4 separate regions of the Homo sapiens genome follow, and all the other regions are linked to region 2. The links are contacts of gene promoters, found by promoter capture Hi-C in blood cells and fetal thymus (Javierre and others, 2016). All regions are on one chromosome and are shown on one strand. The core of a region is centred on a gene start or on the middle of the fragment in contact, and the rest is flanking DNA. Distances in the headings are between cores, read along the strand shown. Region 1 overlaps ADGRD1 (adhesion G protein-coupled receptor D1). Region 2 holds the start of MMP17 (matrix metallopeptidase 17). Region 3 overlaps ADGRD1 (adhesion G protein-coupled receptor D1). Region 4 has its middle 25 kb from the start of ADGRD1.

What was found. Contacts are between HindIII fragments. The CHiCAGO score rates a contact against its expected background, and 5 or more counts as called.
Region 1: a contact is called between a fragment that was not itself captured here and the fragment with the promoter of MMP17 in region 2, in 1 of 17 cell types (M2 macrophages). The highest score is 5.9, in M2 macrophages.
Region 3: a fragment that was not itself captured here is called in contact with the fragment with the promoter of MMP17 in region 2 in 2 of 17 cell types (M2 macrophages and M1 macrophages); the score reaches 7.2 in M2 macrophages.
Region 4: a contact is called between a fragment that was not itself captured here and the fragment with the promoter of MMP17 in region 2, in 2 of 17 cell types (naive B cells and M2 macrophages). The highest score is 5.7, in naive B cells.

Annotation. Positions count from the first base shown.
Region 1 is chr12:130,977,402-130,982,071 of GRCh38, reverse strand. ADGRD1 (adhesion G protein-coupled receptor D1) reads right to left here. Exons shown (of 25, transcript NM_198827.5): 5 at 9-188. Among named protein-coding and RNA genes, the nearest start is that of ADGRD1-AS1, 14 kb to the left of the region's middle. RefSeq lists an enhancer at 1,536-2,526. The HindIII fragment of the contact is 3,950 bases long and covers 1-3,424 here.
Region 2 is chr12:131,826,578-131,831,105 of GRCh38, reverse strand. MMP17 (matrix metallopeptidase 17) reads right to left here and starts at 2,713. Exons shown (of 10, transcript NM_016155.7): 1 at 2,453-2,713. The coding sequence starts at 2,611. RefSeq lists silencers at 470-729, 2,719-2,848 and an enhancer at 377-986. The HindIII fragment of the contact is 25,913 bases long and covers 1-4,528 here.
Region 3 is chr12:131,078,019-131,082,729 of GRCh38, reverse strand. The region is part of intron 14 of ADGRD1 (adhesion G protein-coupled receptor D1); the gene reads right to left. Among named protein-coding and RNA genes, the nearest start is that of LINC01257, 85 kb to the left of the region's middle. The HindIII fragment of the contact is 1,397 bases long and covers 1,256-2,652 here.
Region 4 is chr12:130,926,068-130,930,908 of GRCh38, reverse strand. No RefSeq gene overlaps it. Among named protein-coding and RNA genes, the nearest start is that of ADGRD1, 25 kb to the left of the region's middle. The HindIII fragment of the contact is 2,981 bases long and covers 481-3,461 here.

The DNA of each region.
Region 1 (4,670 bases), core at 200-2,699, 850 kb after region 2:
TCACTCACCTGGGGGGCTGAAGGAGGCCTCCCATGTCATGGAATTGTCCCGCGTATACAGCTCCACAGAGCCTCTGCCACCGCTGGAGCAGACTTTGAACCCATTGGAGATGACCTGTCCCCCATACGCAGAAGGGATTGGTCTAGACTGTTCTCCTTGTGTCTTCCAGAAAAAAGAAAACGTGACCCCTGAGGAAAGTCACAAGATCAGTTATTCACAGAGAGCAGGGGACTTGACTTCTCGCAAGCACATGGTTCTCTTTGCTTTTTATTTTTCATTCGAAAAGCATTTTGTCCCCATTCTAAAGGCAGTGTATGTTCAGTTCAGAAAATCCAGACAGTGATATTTGCTCATGTTTATTAAGGGCTCACACAGTGCCAGGCACTTTTCTAGGAGTTTGAAATGAATTCTCGCCTTTTAAAAAGTACAAAAATCCTGCTTCATCCCCACTATACAGATGAAGGAACTGAGGCTCATTCACTCAAGGTCACCAGTGACTGATGAAGATCGCTGCAGCCCCAGGCAGTTCCCCGCCCCCACTCCCCGGGATCATGCAAATGTGAAGACCTACACCCTCCAGGTTTCTCTCCTATTCCTCCAGAAATGTGGTTAGGGCGGCTCCTTCCTAAGCCTCTTCTATAAATAGATTTTACAAAGACACGAACCATCTCAGGCACACTGGTTTATAAACAACATTTCTATAAAGTTTACTCCACCGTGAACTTCCTCCGATGTCCATAAATACACTGTCACGTTGTCACTTTTATGTCTGCACAGCGGCGCATTCTAAACAAGCACCACAGTCTTTTTTTTAAACAGCAATCCCCTGTTGCTGGATCTTAAGGTTTTCTTCCACTTTTTGAAGAAATTTTCAAACAGAACTTGAAGCAAATTCTTTTGCATATCTCAGACTATATGCCTTTAGGATACATTCCCAAGAGGGCATTTCTTGCCAAAGGGAAGCACACTTTTAAGGTTGTTGATATCTTCAATTGTTCATTTCCCGCAGTTGGATACAGAGGGGGCAGCAGCTGAAACCTTTTTCAAGACTCTAGTCTGCACATTCGTGGTAAGTCCTGACCCCAGGCCCACGCTGCGGGGGAGGAGGGATTGCACCTGGACTAAATGGTCTGAGCGACGCATGTTAGCATGAATGAGCTGGCTCATTAGTTCATGTTGCCTCCGCCACCAGCAGCAGATAGGACATACCTCAAATGTGTTGTGGCAGTATATTACAGTAAATTATGACAATTAGATATTGTACCTTTGTGGGTGCAAAGTCCTACTGTGATCAATGTAAACATGGAAAAACAATGTAATTTTTATGATCCTCATGTGGGATTTCTCCATGTTTTTACTATAAGAGGAACTGCAGGCCGGGCGCGGTGGCTCACGCCTGTAATCCCAGCACTTTGGGAGGCCGAGGCAAGTGGATCACCTGAGGTCAGGAGTTTGAGACCAGCCTGGCCAGCATAGTGAAATGCCGTCTCTACTAAAAATATAAAAATTGGCCGGGTGTGGTGGCATGCACCTGTAGTCCCAGCTACTCAGGAGGCTGAGGCAGGAGAATTGTTTGAACCACGGAGGCAGAGGTTGCAGTGAGCCGAGACCACGCCATTGCACTCCAGCCTGGGCAACAGAGCAAGACTCTGTCTCAAAAAAAAGAGGGTCCAGGCATGGTGGCTCACGCCTGTAATCCCAGCACTTAGGGAGGCCGAGGCGGGTGGATCATGAGGTCAGGAGATCGAGACCATCTTTACTAACATGGTGAAACCCCGTCTCTACTAAAAATACAAAAAATTAGCCAGGCGTGGTGGCAGGTGCCTGTCGTCCCAGCTGCTCAGGAGGCTGAGGCAGGAGAATGGCGTGAACCCGGGAGGCAGAGCTTGCAGTGAGCCGAGATTGTGCCACTGCACTCCAGCCTGGGCGACAGAGCGAGACTCCGTCTCAAAAAAAAAAAAAGAGGAACCGCAAAAGCCCAGCTCCTGAGCATGCCCCGCACCCACCCCGACCGCTGTTCTGCACTCACACCCACTGGTCTGGGGGCCGGGCTCTCTGCTGAAGGGGAAGTCAGGGCAGGGCCTGGCTGGAGGCTCTGTGGAGCTTGGGCCTCTCTGGCGTTGCATTTTGGAGCTCTGGTTGTCTCTATTCCACTTCTCTGCCTCCAGTAGCATCTGCCCACCTGGCCCTTCTTTGTGTGTAAACTCCAGTGTGTGTGTGTGTGTGTGTGTGTGTGTGTGTGTGTGTGTGTGTGAGACACTAGCTGCCTGTCTGGATTCTGCCCCTGACAGCTGGAAATACATCCAGCTGCCTCACCCCCGCCAAGCCTGGCCCAGGCACATGGGTAAGAGGGTTCAGTGGTGCTGAGAGAGAACACGTGCCCAGAACTGGTCCAAAGAGGCCCATGATGGGACGGTGGGTGCAGGGGAGAGGCAGAAGGATATTTGCCCTGGGCTTTATTTCTATAAATGGTGCCAAATTTAGACTTTAGACCTTACCTTCACATGAGGTTATGGACACAGTCTTAGAGAGTCACTGAATTCAAAGAAGACATTTGTCATTCGTGTATAAGGCAGTGTCTCATTGCCCACCATGCTTTCTGTGATGCCTTATGAATTAACATATCTGTTAGAAGTCCTTCAAATGTCTTGTGACAATATATCAAGACAACTATACCTTTGTGAGTTCAAAGCCCTCGCAGGATTCAGGAAAAACACAGCATACATTTTATAACCCTGGTATGGAATTTCCCCATTTTATTTTTTAAGAGAAGAAGAACCTCAAAAAAATTGGAAGAGGCCTGGACCTTTCTGGACCTCTGAGAGGCTACGGGGTACAACTCCAAGCCCTGCGGCATCTGTCCTTAGGGCTCCTGGGAAAGAAAACAGCCTTCCCGAGTGCCCAGTAATGTGGGTTACCGCAAAAGGGTGCGACTGTGGGGGTTGCACAGAGGCCTGGGGCAGCTGACGCTGGTGTCCCCAGACCTGGCTGGCACCACCCACACCCACCTCATGAACGGGCTTCCTGCAACACCTGCCTTGGGCGCTGAGGGGTACAGAAGCCAGGACAACCCCCCGAGCCTCCCGCCACTTCCCTGCCTTGGGCGCTGAGGGGTACAGAAGCCAGGACAAACCCCCAAGCCTCCCGCCACTTCCCTGCACACTCAGAAACAACCCGTTTCACAAGGAAGTCAGCACAGTGCGTTGTGAAATTTTTGTTATGAAACAAATTCCCAGTAGGATTCATGGAAGTTAATTTTTTCCAAAAACTTTGCTGCATTTTAAAATTTCTTTCACTCAATTCAAAATGAGCCTGTCTTGGCCAAATGTCTTTCTGTTCAGGAAGAAAAATAAAAATAAAAAAATTCCATGTGGTGTTAGGTAAGGGTAGATCGAAGGCCATCCATGGTGCCGGTAACCAAGCTTTTCATTTAGTTAACTCAACGCACAAAACAATGACTTCTACCTGAGCAACAGCTTATATTTAAGTATCAATTCACGTCTTCATAGAGTCATAACAAATTCACAATGTGCCTTCCATATTAGCCTTTTAAGGAACTTTGCCTCATGGAGTTGGGCCATCAATACAACAAGGAAAAATCTGAAGGAAAAAGAAACAAGCACAATATTGACAAACTAATTTGATAATTTTTTCTTGTTATAAGCACTGAATCCTAAAACATCCAAAAAATAAAATGAGGAAAGATCTTTTTTGACAAGACAAAAAAAGGAAAAATAAAAATCTAGGAGTCATAAGAAAAGACTAATAAATTTAAGTGCATAAATATAATATTCTGCAAGGCAAAAAAAATTACCGTAACAAACTCAAAGACAGACAACCATCCAGGGAAAGAATATTTGTCACAGATTTACTAGATGAGAAGTTAATTCCCTTCATATGTAGAGACCACGGCATAAGACAAAGGATGATTTCTAGCAGGTGAGGAGAACTTATATGGGCTGAGGTTAAATCCTCCCAACAACCTGTGAACTAGGGGTCATTACTGTCCCCATTTCACAGGGGAGAAAACTGAAGCACAGGGAGGTGCGGTAACTTGCCCAAGGCCACACAGCTGGTCTGGGACGAGTCAGGATTTGAACCCAGGCAGCCTGGATCTGGAGTCTGCGTTTGTAATCACTGTGCTGTGGCTCCCGCCCTTCCCTTGGAGATCATGCATGCAGCTGCCCTTCCCAGGCCCACAGACTCAGCACCCTGCAAGAGCATGATCAACACATGCCAACAAAGCAGCGGCCCAGGAGGGCGCGAGGTTATACAGGCATGCGGGCCCGCCTGGCGTCTGTACCCACACCCCAGTCACCACAGACCACACAGCTGAAGGCTGACTCGGGCTGGGCCTATCAGAATCACCAGGACTGACCCAGGCATGGGCAGGCTCACCTGACAAAACCAGAACTTGGAGCTTCTGAGCGGATGCTGCTCCCACACCAGGAAAGCAGCCTTGAGAACAGAGCTGGAGCAAGGCAGGGACAGGGTCTGATGGCCGTTCTGGCACCCGGACCAGCCTGTGGCCCACCACGTTTCCCAAAGAGCCACGAGGATGCGCGTCCCATACGCTTTCACGCAAGACTCAGAGCCCGTTTCCCGGCTGCCTCATGGGCCCTGTGCCTGGTGTGGCCAGGAGGAGACACTCGTTTGCATATCGAGCCTTT
Region 2 (4,528 bases), core at 1,464-3,963:
TCCGGCACAGACACTCCAGATAGCGTGCGAAGCTGCAATCGCACGGCCCACGGTGCCACCGTGCAAAAATAAGGCACGGAGAGCCGCGTCCCATCCGTGCCCAGGAACCAGGGGCGGGAGGGAGGCGGACGCCTGTGGAGACCCTGGGCTGCTCGCTGTATGTCGTACTCAAAACACAGAAAGACAAAAAACTCAGGCCCACAAGGACAAGCAGCCCCGCCAAGGACCCCCGGGGGGACAGTGCGCTCTTTTGTCCCCGCCGGGGGCTCCTGAAAGCCCGGCTCCGCAGCCCAGCAGCCTGAATCCCGGCCTTGTTCACGTGCATACGGGGGGCGCTCCGGGGCGGGCCCTCCCCTCCAGCCCCGGCTCCAGCCCTGCTGGGTGCAGCTCTGTCTGCAGCTCTGAGACAAAGGAGCACTTCTCGTCCCTGGCGCCCAGACCTGAATATCAGTCCACTCCGGGAGCGCCTCCGGCGAGCGGGCGGAGGAGGAGTCCCCGCTCCCGCCCAGATCCCGGCCTCCTCGTCCCTCCCCGCGGGGAAGCCGCCCGCCCCTGGGCCTGAGCTCGGCCCGCGGTTCCCCGAGGGCCAGCAGAGGACGCCCCGCACCGCCAGTGTGAGCAGGAAGCCGCGGCAGGACGGAGGCTCCACGCCAGGCCGGGCCCGACACGGAGCGGGGCTCCAGGCAGGGGGCTGCCCGCAGCGTCCTCCCTCTCCGGCTGGACACCGGGGCCCCACTCACTGCCCCCGGCCAGGCTGGGGAGCCACATCCTCCGCTCGGTGCTGTCGCAGGGCGCGGGGCGGGTGACCCCCGGGGTGCCAGGAGAGACCGAGGCGCAGGTACCAGCCGAGAGGAGGGCGCCTGACCCACTCTCTCCGGGCAGGGGGGCAGGTGGGTGGCGAGAAACTTCCAAACCGCACTGGGTCTGATCAGCCAACATGGCTCGGCCGGGGGTCCATCCTCCTGAGTGTGTGGGCCCCACCTTGAGTCCTTCCCTGGCATTGCCCCGGCCCCTTCTGCGGCACCCTCGGACCTGGAAGGCGGGCCTGGGTTCACCTCCCTCCACAGCTGGAGACCCCAGGCCCCCAGGGCGTGATTCTCAGTGGGGGATCCGGGAGATCCGCACCTACAAAAGGGTCTTGAGGAGGTGGAGGGGGGCACCCCAAGTTCACAGGCTGCCTGGCTGGAAGGAAGCCACTGTGGGGACCTGCAGGCACCTGGACGCGGGCAGCAGGGACAGTGGCCAGCACCCTCCCAGATGGCTTCGGGGCCTGGGGCAAACGGTGGCCAAATCGGCTTCCCATCCAGACCCCCTGGCCAAGTCCTGCCAACCACAGGGGCTGCGGGTGCCACCCAAGTGGCCCCTCCATATGCCTCGACTGCCTGAAATACACCTGCGCTGACTTGCTTGGACCCCAAGGTTTTGGAGCTCCTGAATGTCCACTGCGCTGGGCGAGGGGCCCTGCCAGGACCCCACTGGGAGACTGTCCGCGGACGAGGGCCAGGCCGAGTACTTGTGTGGGGCGGGGAGGCCTCGGCTCCTGGCCCGACTCCCTGGGTAGGAGTCCATTGAAGGCAGCGGTGGGGCAGGAGCCTCAGAAGGAACCAACGAACCCAGCGGGAGTTCACCCGGCCGCCCCAGCGGGGGGGCGCTGACCCCACGACGTGTGCTCTAAATCTTCCGGGTCCACAGGAGACGCGAGTCCCGGCTGCGGAACAGGGGAGGGGGCTGTAGGAAGAGGCCACGTCGCTGCCCCCAGGCAGGGTTTCTAAGCTGAGCTGGGGACAGCTACTGGGTGTGGAGTGAGGAAGGCTCTCCCCGCGCCCCCGGCTCAGCACTGTACCAGGGCAAGGCAGGGCCAGCCTGGCCGACCTGGGGTGGAGGGGAAGGAGGCTGAGGGCCAGGTCCTTGTCCAGTGGGGAGCTGGGGGCCAGCATCCCTGTGCCCCCAACACCCTCAACCGAGCAAACTCGGGGGCTCAAGGCTTTCGGGGTGCCCCCACTCCGTAGCCCCTGCCCTTCCTCGCTTTGTGGGTGCGTGCTCCTGCCCCCGCCACTCCCACCCGGAACGCACGCAGCGCGCAGAGCTCGGGGCGGCCGCGATGCCTGCTCTCGCCCAGCCCGGCTGCTCCGGGGCTGCTGCAAGCCGGCGACCCGGGCTCCGGGTGGGCGACCCCCTCACAACTCCACGGGCTCCTGCGGCTGCGGCGCGCTCCCAGCGCACGGAGCCGGGACGGCAGCCGGCGCCTCCCCAGGACTCGCGTGCGCTCGCCCGGTCGCTCAGCCCGCGTCCCTGCCTCAGTCTCCCCACCCAGGAAATGGGTCCAGGGCGCCAGGGCTCCCGCGCGACGCCGACGTGCACTGCTGGGGTCTTCCCGGTCCCCGCCACCCGGCCCGCGGAGACCCCCGGCTCCGGCCCAGGAGCTCCGCGCCCGTCCCGCCCGCGCGCTCACCACTCCCAGGCTGAGGTCCTCGGCGCGCGGCGCGGGTGCGGGCGCGGCGCAGCCCCCGCGGGTCCCCAGCGCCAGCAGCAGCAGCAGCGGCAGCGGCAGCCGCGAGAGTCCGGGCCCTGGGGGCGGCGGGCCGGGTCCCCGGGCTGCGCGGCGCCGCATGGCGCTCACATGGGCCCGCGGGCGGCGTGCAGGGTCCCGCGCCCTCCGCTTCGCGTTCCGCAGCCCGGCGCCCTCCGCTCTCCGCGGCGCCCCCGCCGGACTGAGCCCCGCGCGGCAGCCTCAAGCGGCGGGGCGGGGCCATGCAAATGTATGCTAACGAGGCCGGCCGCCTTAAAGGGCCCGCGCCGCCTCGGACGCTGCCACCCCCGCCCGCCCCGCCGTGTCCGCGACGGGACTGGGTCCGCGGCATCACAGGGAAGGCGTTTCCCCGGGTGTCTTAGGACGCTCTTGGGGCGGCGGGGACGCGCGGGATGGGCGCGGAGGCGGGGGTCGGGGCGCCTGCGGGGAGCTGACCCTGACTCCCCTCTCCGGCCGCGCTCCCGGGTCCACCCCCCACGGCGCCGAGGCCCGGGTTCAGACCCGGGTTCAGGCCCCGGAGCCGCCGCCGCAGCGCAGCAGGTGGGCGCTTGGTGGAGCCCGCGGACCGCGGGAGAGGGAGGGTGGGGCTTGGGGGGCGCGGGGGACTGGAGGGCGAGGGCGGGTGTTGGGGGGGCTGGGGTCCTCGGCGGAGGCTCTGCGGTCCCTGCGGGCCTGGGAGCGAGAATGTTAACTTGTAATGTTTGTTGGAGCGCAGCGTGTGCCTGGCACATGCCCAGGAGTTACATAAATAATTTCATTTACTTACAACATTTATGAGATGAAAACTATGATTTCCATTTCGCAGACAAAGAAACTGAGGCCCAAAGAAATGAAGTAACTTATGGGAGGTCCTGGAGCGGGCAAGCGGCAGAGCCAGGGTCAGAGCCCGAGCAGGCGCTTGTGTGGATTGAACTCGTGCAAGTTGCGTACAGGCTGCCCACCGAGTGGGAGATCTTGGGAGAGGGCAGGGGGTGAGGTTCAAGGGTAACCCTTGCCTTTATTCAGCTTCTCCTCGTGCTGGACAGCATGGCTTCCCCTCCTTCCCAGGCCCTCCTGCTCCACCACCCCAAATCGCAGCTGGTACTGTCAGGACTGAGGTCTCATTCTACGGACAGGGAAACTGAGGCTCGGCCCCTTTTACCAGAACTGGTCTCAGGGAAGTGGTGCCCCTCCCCTCCTGTGAGGGCCGACTCCCCCCAACCACCCCCCCCCCCCCCCCCCCGCTTCCCTGGGTACTCTGGCCCATCCTGTCCCTGCTGCCCTCAGAGCCTCCCTGGCCCGGTCTGAACAGGGTGATTCCACACCTGCTTCAGATGACCTTGGTTCGGACTGATGGGATCACCTGTAGGAGGTGGGGACTTTCACAGGACATCCCGGATTGTTTTTTCTTTCTTTCTTTTTTTTTTTTTTGCTCTGTTGCCCAGGCTGGAGTGCAGTGGCACGATCTTGGCTCACTGTAATTTCTGCTTCCTAAATTCAAATGATTCTCCTGTCTCAGCCTCCTGAGTAGATGGGATTTCAAGCGTGCACAACCGTGCCCAGCTAATTTTTGTATTTTTAGTAGAGACGGGGTTTCACCATGTTGGCCAGGCTGGTCTTGAACTCCTGACTTCAGGTGATCAGCCCGCCTTGGCCTCCCAAAGTGCTGGGATTACAGGCGTGAGCCACCGCACCTGGCCTCATCCGGGATTTTGACCAAGTGCATCAGGACAACCTGGTTTCCAGAGCAGAGACCCAGCCAAAGCGGCTGTAGTCAAGGAAAGGAAGCGTATGGGTATGGGCTCAGGAAACGGTGGCGTCCTAGCGTGTGCCAAAGTCAGGCAGGGCTGGACCAAGTCTCACAGCAACAGCGTCAGAACGCGGTTTCTCTCAGTCCATCTCTGTGTGGGGCAAAGACGGCCCAGGGCAGCTCCTGTGCATCCTTCCCCCTCAGCAGGCCCAGCCAGAGACAGACTCTTTCTCAACCAATGGTCCCAAGGCCACCTCTCTCTGGATTCT
Region 3 (4,711 bases), core at 705-3,204, 750 kb after region 2:
TGTCCTCCTCCTCTCCCTCCCCACCCCTTTTGATCTAATTTTCCCAGGACCTTGGAGGGAGTCAGCAAAAACCAGCTGTTGTGTTATATATTGCGCCTTTGTCTGTCAATTGGCTGCATAAGTACCATACTTCAATTTGAGGGGGGGGCCTGAACATTAACAGGCATTGGATTAGGTGAACGTAGCCACGGGTATGAGCTGCCCCTTCTGCTTACACAAAGGGTAAGCTAAACAATATGAAAGTCACATCGCTCAGATGGAGCTGCAAAGGTGTGACGATGACCTAGTTAGCCAGAGGAGTAGAGCCTTCAGTGGCATCAATGAAGATCTACTTCCCAGGGACTCAGCGAAAACAAAGAGGCAGGCTTGCAGCTTGTGCATAAATAAATCTGCTATGGAAGCCAGATGAAGCAGTATCAATAGCATTAAAGATATGTACGGCCCTATGACCCAGGAAGTCTGCATCTAAACAGAAAAATGTTCAGTCATGCATACATAAAATGTAACATGCATAAATACGGTAAAAAACATGTGTGTCCACACAGGCAAAACACAGAAACAAAAGGTGGAGGAAGGATGGAAGACACATTGAATTAAGCAACACCATATATTTCCTATGATTATAAATATAAATTATATATAAATTATTGAAAAAACACATAAAAAACCCTCCCACCGTGGTTATTACTGGGGAAAGGGGTGGAGATCAGGATAAGAGGTAAAGATCAAAGGGAACACTTGCTTTTCTATAATGTTTTACTTTTGAACAAAATAATATATTGATATATTACTTGTATAATTTCTTAAAGTATCAGTCTAGAAAAAAAGTGGCCCAGAATTCTAAGCCCAATGAAAATCTTTCAAGACTAAAAGAGAATACTTTTTCAAATGGTAACTGAATCTATTGCCAGTGGACCAGAACTGCAAGAAGAGTTAAAGGAGTATGATACTAGACAAAAATCTACACAAAGAAATAGAACAGCTGGAAGTGGAATAAGTGAAGGTAAACAGGCAATTATTATTGTCTTAATTTTAATTGCTCTAGAAGATAACTCATTATCCGGGGGAAAAAATACTAGCAATGCATTGCGTTTATGGTGTCTGTACAAAGGTGAAATGTACTACAACAACAGCACACAGAACGGGCAGGAGGAAGTGTGAACCTATTGTTACAATGTCTTAGAATATATTTGGAATGATATCATAGTACTTGAAGGCAGGCATGAATGAATTAGACATATATACACTGTAAGCTTAGGTCAACCACTATCAAAAAAGTTAAAAGGATGTATACATTAGAAATCATTTATAGTAGAGATAAAATAGCATCATAAAAGATATCCAACAATCCAAATGAAGTCAGAAAAAGACAACATTTTAAAAAGATAGAAAAGTTAGAAGACATCTAGCAAAATGGTAGATTTTAATCCAGCCACACCAATGATTACATGAAATATAAATTGTCTAAACATGTCAATTAAAAACAGAAATTTTAGGACTGGATTAAAGAAAAGACACGACCCAGCTACATGCAGTCTAAAAGAAACTCACTTTAAATATAAATATATAAATAAGATAAAAGTTAAATTATGGGAAAAGATACAGCACTCAAACACTAATCAACAAAGCTAGAGTAGTTTTATCTAAATTAAACTAAGTAGACTTCAAAGTAACGCATATTTCCCAGGGTAAAGAGGGACATTATGTAATGATAAAAGGGCTAATCTTCCAAGAAGACATAACAATCCTAAACATACATGCACCTAATAACAGAACTTCAAAATTCATTAAAGAAAAATTCATAAAACTAGGCCGGGTGCAGTGGCTCACGCCTGTAATCCCAGCACTTTGGGAGGCCGAGGCGGGCGGATCACGAGGTCAGGAGATCGAGACCATCCTGGCTAACACGGTGAAACCCCGTCTCTACTAAAAATACAAAAAATTAGCCGGGCGTGGTGGCGGGCGCCTGTAGTCCCAGCTACTCGGGAGGCTGAGGCAGGAGAACGGCGTGAACCTGGGAGGCGGAGCTTGCAGTGAGCCGAGACCATGCCACTGCACTCCAGCCTGGGTTACAGAGCGAGACTCTGTCTCAAAAAACATAAAAAAAAGAATAAAACTAGAAGTAGACATAGGTAAATCCACCACTAAAATTGGAGAATTCACACTCCTCTCTCTTTAATTGACAGAACAAGTTGACAGAAAAGTAGTAGTAAGAATATAGAAGACATAATCTTAACTATCAATCGACTTGGTGTAATTGACATTTATAGAACACTCCACCAAGAATATACTTTTTTTCAAGTGCACATGGGACTTTCATCAAAGACTGAACATATATGGGGGTGTCATAAAAACTTTTAACAAATTTAAAAGAACTAAAATTATACAAAGAATATTTTCTGATCATAAAAAAACTATTTACAAATCAACAGCAGAAAGCTCTCTGGAAAATTCCCAACTATTTGGAATTAAACTACACACTTCAAAATAACACATAGGTTGAAGAGGTTGAAGAGGAAGTCACAAGGAAAATTAGAAAATATTTTAAATTTAATCAAAATAAAAACATATCAAAATGTGTGCAATGCAGCTAGATCAGTGCTCACAGAAAAAATATAGCATTAAATGTTTATATTAGAAAATAATAAAGCTTCATAGTAATAACCTAAACCTACATTTTAAGAACTTTTAAAATGAAGAGCAAATTAAACTCAAAGAAAGCTGAAGGAAGTAAATTAAAGACAAAGAGGATAAGCCAATGAAATTGACAACAGAAACACAAGAGAGAAAAATCAATGAAGCCAAAAGTTATATCTTTGGAAAAATATCAATAAAATTAATAAACCTATAGTAAGAGTGACTCAGAAAAAAGAAGACACAGATTATAGATAAAAAAGTGAAATGGGAACATCACCACAGACCCTTCAGGCATGAAAAAGGCTAACAACGGAATACCACAAAAAACTCTGTGCCTATAAATTAAACAACTTTGATGAAATTGATGAATATTTCAAAAAAACATAAACTGCTTGAACTTATTTAAAAAGAAGTAGACGACCTACATAGTCCTGCATCCATAAAAGAAACTGAATGTGTAGTTGAAAACCTGCCAACATTGAAAATGAAGGCTCAGGTGACTTCATGGTGAATTCTACTAAAATGGAAGAAATAATATCAATTCTATACAGACTATTCCAAAGTGCATCCCAAAATGTAACTTTTATAAAGGTATCATTACCTCGATATAAAAACAAAGACATTACCAAAAAAAGAAAACTGCAGACCAATATCCAACATGCACGTAGACACAAAAATTCTCAACAACTGTAGCCAATTAGATTTAGCAGTATACAAAAAGATAATACATCATGACCAAGTGTGGTTTACCCCACAAAAGCAAAGCTGGTGAAACTTCCAGCTTTAATCATAATGATCCCACTCTGAAAACTACCCAAATGTTCCTCTACTCGGGAGAAGATAAATAAACTACGGTACATCCATGTAACGGAATACCCCCTCAGCAGTGAAATGTGAAAACAAGATGTTGATATATCCAACAATACATGTGTGGTGACGCTCAACACACTATGCAAAATTAAAGAGGCTAGACTCCAAAAGGCTTCCTGCGCCATGATTCCATCTATGCACACTCTGGCAGAAGCAAAACTATATAGGAACAGAAGACAAATCGGTGCTTGCAGGAGCCGGACGTGAGAGGAAGGGATGACTGCAAACAGACACGGGGGCATCTTGGAGGGTGATGGATTGTTCTAATCCTGATTACGGTGGTTGCACAACTGTATTCATTTGTCAAAACTCACAGAACTGTACAATCATCTACAAGTGTGGATTTTTCTGAATATCAATTATATAATAATAAGTAATAATTGCACAATGGACAGGAAGGATACAGATACTATATTCATGATGGTGGCTGCCTCTAGGAATTGAGGGAAAAGAACAGAAGGAGGTGGAGGGTTCGTTAACATCATCTGTGATGTTTTAGTTGTTTCATTCTTAAAAATACAAAAATATAAACATGCTAATAACTATAAATTTGGGGCAATGGGTACCTGCATTTGTTATATTATTCTCCGTACTTTTCTATGTTCTTAAAATTCCTTCAAAAATAAGAATCAACATGCCAATTTAGTTCTTACCAAATCCCATCCCGTTTTCTAGTCATAATTTTTTTCTCCAAACAGTGCCCCGGAATTGGAATAACTATTTCTAGGAGCACATGCTTCCAAATTTTCACAATTTACAAATAAAGGAAAAAGAGCTGCAACCTGCTGAGCCTGACCAGGGCAAAATCACTGAAATTACAGAGCATCAATCCACATTGCAGAGGCATGACGCCAACGGTCATAGCCAGACGCCGACGGCCATAGCCAGAGTGAGGCATCCCGGGGGTCAAAAATGTAAGCAGTGTTTGCTGGAGGTGACAGGAGCTGGGCTGCACTTTCCTCGCTGTTCACAGAACAGAGATAAAGGGAGATTATGCCGACCTGCTGCTGCACCCCCAGCTCAGCGTCTTGCAATCTCCTGGCCCTCTGGGTGCAGGGAGCAGAGACGCTTTCTCTGACGGGGACCATACCAGCAGAGGTGGCACAGCCTGTGTGGATCCTGCCCTGAAGCAGCAGGAGGAGGGAGCTGGGGAAGTGAGTCCAGGCACAGGAAGATGCCCAGGTGTTGGGGAGCCCTGACAACA
Region 4 (4,841 bases), core at 722-3,221, 900 kb after region 2:
TACTAAAAGTACAAAATTAGCCAGGTGTGGTGATGTGCACCTGTAATCCCAGCTACTTGGGAGGCTGAGGCAGAAGAATTGCTTGAACCCAGGAAACGGAGGTTGCAGTGAGCCAAGATCGCACCAGTGCACTCCAGCCTGGGCAACAAGAGTGAGATTCCGTCTCAAAAAAAAAAAAGAAAGAAAGAAAGAGAGAGAGAAGGCTGAACCATTGATTATAACCAGCAGAGCCAGTTGGCAGCTACTGTGCAGCCAGCCACACGTCTCATTGAGACCTGCAGGAACAGCCAGTAAATGAGTGGGAATGGATGACCCTTGCACACGACCCTGCTCCAAAATCAGAACTGTGTCTGCAGCCCACCTTGTTTCCCTCTGGCAGAAAAATAACCTTGAGCTGTGCAGCTGCTGAGCTGAACATCCAGAGGACTGAGCACACCCAGACCTGTAAGTGCCACAGAGGAAGCATGGAATGAGGAAGCTTTAGCTCATCCTGGAAGATGAGAACGCACACCTGAAACCATGACCTTTTTGAGATTTTTAATAACGAGCATACTTTTAGACTGCTCTTAGGCTCTGTGTCTCTGAATTTATAGAGAGAGAGACTCCTCAGTCAGGCAGGCTGTCCAGTGGGGCCAAGTCTTAATAAAGGTTAAATCACCATCCCCTTCCTTCACCATCTTCATCTCATGATCAGAGACAATGTCATCCTCATCCTCAAAGTGATCACTGGTGGGGCAGCCCCCTGTGCCAACCCTGCCCCGAGTGCCAACCTGCAGGCATCTGCTGATTCCTTAGGACAACCCTAGGAAGTTTATGCTATTTTATTTTTACTTTTTGGAGACCAGGTCTTGCTCTGTCACCCCCGCTGGAGTGTAGTGGTGTGACCACAGTTCAGAGCGGCTTTGATCTCCTGAGCTCCAGTCATACTCCTGCCTCAGCCTCCCAAGTAGCTGGGACTACAAGCATGTGCAACCATGCCCAGGGAATTTTTTAAAATTCTTTTGTAGAGTGAGCCACTATTTTTAAAACCTTCTTTTAAAGATGAGGAAACAGAAGTTCTGAGAGGTAAAGTAGGTTCCCCAAGGCCAGTTTGTGAGTGGAGGATTAAAGGTTCCAATGCAGGGAGCCTCACTCCAGCACCTGCGTTCTTAACCACTCCACCACGTCCTTTCCGTATGTCTAAACATTCTGAAAGAAAAATATTTTATAACAAAGAAGTGCACAGTAGAGTTTCTCATTACCTTGATATTATATTCTGTGGTCCGTGAAGACATTATCATCACCAGACACGTGACCTGTGGTCACCTCTAACTCAATTCTCTCACACTCGCATCCCAGACAGACACAGAGGCTCACAATCACGTGCACCACAAAGAGGATTATTTTTACGTTTTTATGATGAGTTCATGTGCAGCTATTCAAAGGCTTTGGAAACCTTCCCATCTCATAGCATCTTCAAGAGAATGTTTCTTTCTTTAACCCATGGAAAAAAAAAAAAAAACCTTCCTAGTCCGACCTTGCTCAAGTCTTTTTGACAATAGTCCCTGTTCCTCGGTCGCAGTAACAAAGAATAAAAATGGGTGGCCAAGACACCCAGCCGTGTCCTCGTGAAGAGAGAAACAGCACCACTCACACTCCACTCTGCCTGATACAGTCAGAAGCATCTTGGGAGAATTTCCAATTTGACAGTCGTGTGGAATGAGAAAATAAATGTGCAGGGAACAGGTTTGTAAGAATTTACATCCAGCTTGTGCAACATGGCAAAACCCCGTCTCTACTAAAAATATAAAAATTAGCCAGGCATGGTTGCATGCACCTGTAGTCCCAGCTACTTGGGAGGCTGAGGCAGGAGGATCGCTTGAGCCCAGGAGAGGGAGGTTGCAGTGAGCCGAGATCGCACCACTGCACTCCAGCCTGGGCGATAAAGCAAGACCCTGTTTAAAAAAAAAAAAAAATTCCAGGACTCATTGTTTTTTCTATTTGAGGGGAAGGAAGGATGACGTCGGGGCAATTAGATGTAAACTTTTGGCAGGAACTCAAGAATGACAAGTACAAGAAAACTCAGGAAGGAGTGAAACTTCTCCATATGCCACTCCCCACAAACTAGAGTTAAAACCATGGCAAAAATGTGTTGCCAAATAAGTGATGCTATTGCTGCATAAATACGAAGCATTGCTGGGTTTGTTGTTTTCTGTGTGTGTGTGTTTTGCTGTGTTACCTAAGCCAAATATGAACTAATACACAAGGACACACAGTAACCATGAATGCAGTCAGACAAGTAATGATTTACGCTGTGTACAGATTGTGACGTTTTTGGTTCTTTGCAGGGTCGGAATAAATAGAGAACAGAGGCAGAGCATCCAAGAAGGAAAAACAGAAGCTCCTGGCAGATGCTGAAACCGGAAAGAGGCATGAGAAGACAGCAATGGGATCTGACACTACGGCCCTGTCTGTCAGGGCTATGTCAGTTACCAACCCATCTGATAGAAGCAGAAGGAAAACAAACTGGTCCGTGGAAGGAAAGGCCAGTGGTGATGCTGGCTGCAGGCACAGCTGGATCCAGGTGACATCCTGGGGTTCAGCTTTGCCCTTCTATTCAGACCCTTTCCTTGCTGCGGATGTTTACAAATAGTGCCAAGCCTGGAGTCACTCTCTGACTTGTCTTAATTATGTCATTAGACCAGCTTTTCTTTTCTTTTCTCTTTTTTTCTTTTCTTTTTTGAAACAGGGTCTCCTGTCACCAAGGCTGGAGTGCAATGGTACAATCACAGCTCACTGCAGCCTCAACCTTCTGGGTTCAAAGAATCCTTCCACCTTAGCCTCCCCAGTAGCCAGGACCACAGGCGTGCACTACCACACCCAGCTAATTCTTTTATTTTTTGTAGAGACAGGGGTCTCACTATCTTTCCCAGGCTGGTCTCGAACTCCTGACCTCAAGTGATCTACCCGCCTCTGCCTTCCAAAGTGCTGGGATTACAGGCATGAGCCACCACGCCTGGCCTATTATTACTTTTTTGAGACAGGATCTTGCTGTTTCGCCCAGGCTGGAGTGCAGTGGTGTGATCATGGCTCGCTGTAGCCTCGACCTCCTGTCTCTACAAATTTTTTAATTTGTAGAGACAGGGTCTGGCTATGTTGTTCACAGGGCTGGTCTCAAACTCCTGGACTCAAGTGATCCTCCCACCTCAGCCTCCCAAAATGCTGGGATTACAGGTTTGAGCCACTGTGCCAGGCCTCATTAGACCAGTTTTCTGACAAACGTGATAGAGAAATCATAATCATTTTCTTGTTGGTTAGTAAGGAATAGAATAGAAAATAGCAACTCATTAATTCAAGCAAGTGAATATGTAGAAGAGGGGGTCCACATAGGGGAGAAGGCGGCCATTTTTCCAAGAAGGAACTCTGACTTGCTGCAGATATTTAGGGGAAAATTCCTAAAATAATGGGGATTTTAGGAAGCTTGGAGAAATTCAAGATGACCTATTGCCAGGTAAAGGAAGCAAGTTGTCAAAATGTATGAATTTGAGGCTCTAGAATTCTCCAAAAGCTTTAGAGTGGCCTAAATAACCTGATTAATATTTTTCAATCCTGGGTGGCAGTATATAGAATACACGCCACTAACATGGGAAGAGTTCCAAGACATGCCACATGAAAACAAAAACAAAACAAAAGAAACAAGTTACAGAACTATTAAGATCATGCGATATTATTTACGTACAGCATATACATAAATGACATCTGGGTACATATTATGCAAAGGCATAGGGAAAGTTCTGGAAGGATAGGATGCAAACCAAAAGAGAATATACTTCTGGAGAATGGAGAGAAGGGCCAGAAGTCACAGGTCTTTACTGCCCAGGGGTGTACCTGGGACTATTCTACAGTCCCAGCTGCTTAGGAGGCTGAGGTGGGAGGATCACTTGAGCCCAGGAGTTCAGGGCTGTAGTGAACTGAGATTGAGCTACTGCACTCCAGCCTTGGTGACAGAGTAAGACATTGTCTTAAAAAAAAATTAAGGCCAGGTGCAGTGGCTCATGCTTGTAATCCCAGCATTTTGGGAGGCCAAGGCGGGAGGGTCACTTGAGGCGAGCAATTTGAGACCAGCCTGGGCAACAAAGTGAGACCTCATCGCTAATAAAAATAGAAAAATTAGCTGGGTGTGGTGGTAATTAGCTGAGTAGCTGTAATCACAGCTACTCAGGAGGCTGAGGCAGGAGGATCGCTTGAGCCTGGGAGGTTGAAGATACAGTGAGCCAAGATCGTGCCACTGGCACTGCAGCCTGTGTGACAGAGAAAGACCCTGTCTCAAATAAATTAATAAAGTTTAAAAAAAGAGCTCTCTAGCCTTGTTGCGACATTTTACATCTTCACAAGAAGAATGTATCCAGCCAATGACTTAAATAATAAAAATTCTTTTTTTTTTTTAGATGGAGTTTCACTCTTGTTGCCCAGGCTGGAGTGCAGTGGTGCGATCTCGGCTCACTGCAACCTCTGCCTCCCGGGTGCAAGCGATTCTCCTGCCTCAGCCTCCCGAGTAGCTGGGACTACAGGCGTGCACCACTATGCCCAGCTAATTTTTGTATTTTTAGTAGAGACGGGGTTTTACCATGTTGTCCAGGATGATCTCTATCTCTTGACCTTGTGATCTGCCTGCCTCGGCCTCCCAAAGTGCTGGGATTACAGGTGTGGGCCATTGTGCCCGGCCAAAAATTCTGTTTTATAAAAGTTTCAAGCACATCTTAAGGCTTCTCATTTTAAGCAACCAGCCTGTGGCACTCTTCTTTATTATACATTCAATTCTTCATCCATCTTTTGTTTTTCCAAATCTGTGTAATTCACCC